2 separate regions of the Homo sapiens genome follow, and region 1 is linked to region 2. The links are contacts of gene promoters, found by promoter capture Hi-C in blood cells and fetal thymus (Javierre and others, 2016). All regions are on one chromosome and are shown on one strand. Each heading gives the region's core, a stretch centred on a gene start or on the middle of the fragment in contact. The rest is flanking DNA. Distances are from core to core; before and after follow the strand shown.

Region 1 (2,832 bases), core at 31-2,530, 770 kb before region 2:
GCCCCAAGGAGGAGGATAGTGGCTTAGAAGAGAGGTGCTCTCCTGGAGGTATACACCAATTTAACAAGTGGGCGTCTCCCAGTAAAAATTTTCTTAGGGGAAAGGGGGGAGTCAAGCTGTAGGTGTTGGCTCCCTAAAACAACTCACCACCTCAGAATTAGCTCCCAGGAGCAGAAACCAACGTCCTGCTGCCACACTTCTCTAGACTCAATCAGCTCTGCCCCACCCACTCCACAAAAGCTCTCTGCCGCGTCTTCCTCTAGGGGAGAGGTGACTGCAGGCTGGGAGACTCCCCAGCTGTGACTCAGACCGACGGAATCAAATCTGTTCCCCCAGGCTCAGCATTCACCAGATCCTGACCTCCCCCTCTGACCAGCCCCAACCCACCTTTCCAAGCCCCACCTCTCAGTCCATGGGCCACCCCTCGCCCACCCCACTTCCCTGTCTCTGGCTCATCTTCAGATGTGTCCCTAGCTCCCAACCCGTCCAAGCGCAGCCGAGTTTCTCGGTCCACATCGCCTCGATATTCCCACAGCATCTGTGGTCTCTCTTAAAAAAAAAAGTGTGCCCGTATCGCCGTTTTACGGAACGTCCCTGGAAGGTCCCTCGAGTGGCCCTCTCGGATGCTGAGGTCCTGTCAACGCCCCTTTGTCTCCCCGTGCGGCGCCGAGCGCAGTGCAGGACACACAGGAAGTGCTCCGAAACAGGGCTAGGGTGGGGGCGGCAACCGTGCCCGGAGGGGGCGCCCAGAGCGCAGGGACTCGGCCGGGCCGAGTGATGTTCCCCCCAAAAAACAAGAGTCATCGGGATGAGGGCCAGGGACCCCGAATTCAGCGCCGGGCAGCCCTCGGAGCCGGAGCCAGGCTGGCCGGGTCCGGCTCAGGCATCCCTTCCTTCCGGAGCCCCTCGACGCGCGTCCGGCCACCCACCTCAGCGCCCTCACCTTGTAAACCTTGCCGAAGGCGCCGTCGCCCAGCTCGCCCACGATCTCCCACACCTCGTTGGGGTCCAGGTCGCGGCGGACGTGCTCATATTCGCGGGACTTTCTCTTCTCGAAGGTAGACAGGCGCAGGATGCGGCGGAAATTGGCAAAAGCCATGGCCGGGGGCGCGGTGGCGCCGGCTCGGGCTCGGGCTCGGGCTCGGGCTGTGGCTTCGGCGGCCGCGAGGAGAAGGAGGAGGAGTTGGAGGACGCCGCGTCTCTCGGGGTTCTCCCCAGACCCGCCTTTCCCCGCAGCCCGACCTCGGTCAAGTGTGCCCTGGGCAGCGCCGCGCCGGGAGCACCCGGAACCGCGCAGGCGGCGGCGTGCCCGCCCCCGCCCCCGCCCTGTCAGGTCCCCAGGGCCGCCTCCCTTGTGCCGGCCTCGCAGCTCCTGCCCGGCCCAGCCCTGCCTGCGAGAGCCTCGGACCCGTTCCAGGGGACCGTCCCCGCGCCCGCCCACCGGCCCGGCTCCACCCGCCGCTCCCCGGCAGAGCCCCGGGACCCCCTAATTGGCTGCGGGCGCTCCCCGGCTCCGCCCGTCGCCGCAGGGCACTCTGGAAACTGTAGTCCCCCCACACCACGCTCCGCGAGCCGCGGGCTGGGCTTTGGGGAAGCTTCGGGGACCGCTCGGTGGGACCGCTCATGGACTCAGGAGCCCGCCCGCCGCGCCGCGTGGCTCCCAAAACTTTTATGGGAGCAAGCGGGACGGCGACTTGGCATTTCGCGAGAGCCCACGGATCGTTGTCAGCGCCCAGAAGGTGAACCTGCACTCGTTCATTTAATCCTCCCGCAGCTATTCCGCTAGGCTGCCCTCGCCCCCACTTTTCCGATGGGGACGCCGGCAGGCGAGGGCACTCGCCCCAGGCACACACGCTGGCTGCCCGTCTGCTGCGGGTTCCTCGGCGCGGTGCTGCCTCCTAGTGTGCGACGGGCAACGCCGGTGCAGCCGCGGCCAGTCCCTGCAGGGCCCGGCTTCCCGGCGCGGTCCTTTCCAGGGGCTCCCCGTCCACGATCCACAAACCTGCCAGGATTAGAGGGCTGGGAGAAAGAGCTCCTTTGGCACTGATTTCTCTTATGTTTCCTGATGGGTTTGCGGATGTATTTGCATATTAAATAAAAACTTTATTCTAATTTTTAATTTCCTAGTTTCAAAAAAGATGAGCGCACTACATACAGATCAAACTAAAGTCTTCTTTGAGCACCTTCATTCTCGATCCTGGCTACTTGAGTCACTTCACTGCTACTGTTGCCTGTTTGTCCTATAGACGGTTATAACATGCTTTTACCTGAATCTAAGGAGAGTGCTGGGGGTGGGGGGGGGGGGCGGGCAGTCTGCAAGGGTTATTATTTGGACCGTGTCATAAACAAGTTGAGTCTTCGCAAATGTCACAGTTCAATAGCTCCAACCCCAGAGAACGGCTGTGTTGAGGTGTTTTCGCCCCTTCCTCGGTGCTTTGTTCGAAAACATCCTTTGAACAGTGTGCAAACACCAAGCATGGTTTTCCACTGGGAAAGCCAGCTCAAGAAGCCTGCGATGCTGGTAGTGGTCGGCGCAGAGGGTGTCCTGGTTGCTAAGCCGTTCGGAATGTTTCCACAGCTGCAGGAGTGCCTGGAATTGTAGAGGGTCTTTAAAAGAAGGAAACGCCGCTCGTCGCTGACCGTTCTCATTGAGTCAGGCGCTGTCTGAACCTCCCAAAACATGCTGAAAGGCAGGTCTTTCATTTGTTTCAGACCATTTGGCCAACTGTACGAAGCGGGTGGGGAGACCAAGAGGGTTGCTTCCATACTAGGAGATGAAGGCTCTGACTCCACGAAAGCTGTAGGCCTGGAGGGCTCTGACCAGCTCTGAGA
Region 2 (2,894 bases), core at 367-2,866:
TTCTTGGAGCCTGGGCACACGCACAGCTGGGTGGCCCTTCAGCTGATACTGCCTTAACTGCTTTAACTCTGCCTGCTGTGCTGTCCAGGCTTCTGCAAATAGCCCAGGTGTGGCCATCCTCCAGAGGCCTCCAACATTAACTGTGAAGGGCCCGGAATAAAACCTAGTATTAGTAGGCCAGGCGCAGTGGCTCACGCCTGTAATCCCAGTACTTTGGGAGGCCGAGGCGGGAGAATCACCTGAGGTCGGGAGTTCAAGACCAGCCTGACCAACATGGAGAAACCCCGTCTCTACTAAAAATACAAAATTAGCCGGGCGTGGTGGCGCATACCTGTAATCCCAGATACTGGGGAGGCTGAGGCAGGAGAATCGCTTGAACTTGGGAGGCGGAGGTTGCGGTGAGCCGAGATGGTGCCACTGCACTGCAGCCCAGGGAACAAGAGCGAAACTCTATCTCAAAAAAAAAAAAAAAAAAAATCTAGTATTAGTAAACGCAGGTGTTTAACAATGTCACCACTACATGTCAGGGAACACTGATAAACTAAGAGAGAGCACGGGACCTGCCTGGGTGTGGCTGCTGTACTTGCAAGACATCTTCCCTCTCTGAGTTTCAGCATGCCGGCATTTGGCACTAAGTTGTCGTTCAACATATATGGAATGAATGAACGAAAGGGAGAGTTGGAGTTAATAACACCTTGCATAGAATAAACCCCGTCGGTTCTTAACCCGAAGAGAGTCGAGACCCAGAGCCCTTTTCCTTCCCTGCCGCCACGGTGCCCACGGAGGGGGCGTGGTTGATCTCCCTCACAGCTCCGTCGGGACCAGAGACCCGGGGACCTTTTACACCCAGGGTCCGCGCAAAGTGTCGGCCTAGCCAGTGGTTGGGTGGCGCCCGGGCCTCCAGGCAGTCTTCCAGGGGTCGGCGAACGAAACGCGGAGCTCGGGAGCGACCCGGCGGGGCCAGGCACGGGCAGAAGGGCCAAGAGGGCCACAGGTGGGCGCGGAGCGGCCGGAGTGGGCGGGGACTGGATGAGAGGGGCGGGGTCTAGGAGAGAGGGGCGGGGCGGCGGCCACAAACCCGCAGGCACGCCGCCGGCCGCCGTTTAGTCCCAGAGATAGAAAAAAGTAGAGGTAGGAGGGCGCGGCGGCTCACGCCTGTAATCCCAGCACTTTGGAAGGCCGAGGCGGGCGGATCACGAGGTCAGGAAATCGAGACCATCCTGGCTAACAGGGTGAAACCCCGTCTCTACTAAAAATACAAAAAATTAGCCGGGCGTGGTGGGGGGCGCCTGTAGTCCCAGCTACTCGGGAGGCTGAGGCAGGAGAATGGCGTGAACCCGGGAGGCGGAGCTTGCAGTGAGCCGAGCTCGCGCCACTGCACTCCAGTCTGGGCGACAGAGCGAGACTCCGTCTCAAAAAAAAAAAAAAGAACACCAGTAAGCCTCTACCGCAGGCCCTACACAAGCAGGCCCTTGTACTCACTGGCATCGCCCTCCCGGGGCCGCCAGGAATGAGGCACTGAGATCCCACCCCAAGCCGCTGGGGGCGCCATTCGACTTCGCTCCTACGGAAATGGGGCTTCGATGTCTTTCTGCGCTTGCGCGGCACGGAAACTCACTTCCGGCCCTGCGCACTCAGGGTCTGAGGCAGCTAGTAGCCGGGTGAGTGGAGGCTGGAGTTTTCTCGGACAGTGAACTCTACCGCCCCGTGAGACCCTGCCCTATGTGTCGCGGGAACACATGTCACCCCACAGCTCTCTTTGAGTGACCTCCCGACCACCCATTCCTGCCTAACCCTAGCATTCCTTCCTCAGCCTCAAGGTCCCAGTGCTACCCTCTCCCCCACGACCCCTTTAGACGGGCATGCGACCTCCACACACGCCTCACTTTATGTGATAGTCAGACTAGTCGCATCTCTCTGTCCTCCCTCAGTTGCCTTTTCAGAGGCTACCTCCCCTGTAGAGCCTTTGTTGGGGGATGAGGAGTGTCTTGGGTCGAGAACAGGCCCCTGTAACCCACTGAGCGCCCCTTCATTCCGTCTCTCTCCGCCCTTTGTAGAGGGTCACCATGAAGTTCAATCCCTTCGTTACCTCGGACCGCAGTAAAAACCGCAAACGTCACTTCAATGCCCCCTCACACGTGCGCAGGAAGATCATGTCATCCCCGCTCTCCAAGGAGCTGCGGCAGAAGTACAATGTCCGCTCCATGCCCATCCGCAAGGACGACGAGGTCCAGGTACGTCTCCCTCCGGCGCTAGTGGCGCTCGGACACCGTTGCCTAAGAACGTCATGCGTGGAGCAGTCACAGACTCACATGCCTCAGGACTCTGGAAAGTAGTGTGACCCTTCAGATGTGTTAGGCCAGAGATAGGGTTCAGAGCCACCAGAGAGTGCCTGCGTTGCTTTAGAGCATTTAATTATTTAATAGTAATAGTAAAATTTAATAAAACAGTATGTCAACCAAGCAAAAACCTGCTTTTTTGTTTGTTTTGTAGAGATAGGGTCTTGCTATGTTGCCCAGGCTGGTCTCTGAACTCCTGGCCTCAAGTGATCCTCCCACCTCAGCCTCCCAAAGCACTGGGATTACAAGTGTGAGCCACCGTGCCCCACCAAAAATACTTTTGATTTAACCTTCTGGCTGCTAGTTTGCCAAGTGTTGTTGCCCAGGGTGGCTTGTTGAACCAGACTGTAGGGGAAGGTGCTGCAGTGAGAGTAGTGTTTTAGTGTATTTGGGTGTAGTGGGATTGATGGACAGAGATTTGTGGGAGCTGGCCATGTGATAGCATTGGATTTGGCAGGAGAACTGGTAAAGATGCAGCGAGTCACTCTTTCATAATTTCTAAAAGACTGGCCCATGTGAGAACGTACAAGCCCTCTGTTCTCTGTGATTGGAGCT

Evidence for each region. The method cuts DNA at HindIII sites, captures the fragments that hold promoters and counts their contacts. A CHiCAGO score of 5 or more calls a contact.
Region 1: a contact is called between the fragment with the promoter of STK10 here and the fragment with the promoter of RPL26L1 in region 2, in 3 of 17 cell types (naive B cells, naive CD4 T cells and activated CD4 T cells). The highest score is 5.7, in naive B cells.

What each region holds. Positions count from the first base shown.
Region 1 is chr5:172,186,944-172,189,775 of GRCh38, forward strand. It overlaps STK10 (serine/threonine kinase 10), which reads right to left and starts at 1,281. Exons shown (of 19, transcript NM_005990.4): 1 at 944-1,281. The coding sequence starts at 1,099. RefSeq lists enhancers at 134-213, 1,266-2,041 and silencers at 674-753, 884-933, 1,234-1,593. The HindIII fragment of the contact is 8,713 bases long and covers 1-1,593 here.
Region 2 is chr5:172,957,808-172,960,701 of GRCh38, forward strand. It overlaps RPL26L1 (ribosomal protein L26 like 1), which reads left to right and starts at 1,617. Exons shown (of 4, transcript NM_016093.4): 1 at 1,617-1,661; 2 at 2,058-2,234. The coding sequence starts at 2,067. RPL26L1-AS1 (RPL26L1 antisense RNA 1) reads right to left here and starts at 1,561. Exons shown (of 4, transcript NR_026682.1): 1 at 1,483-1,561; 2 at 332-450. The HindIII fragment of the contact is 11,810 bases long and covers 1-2,894 here.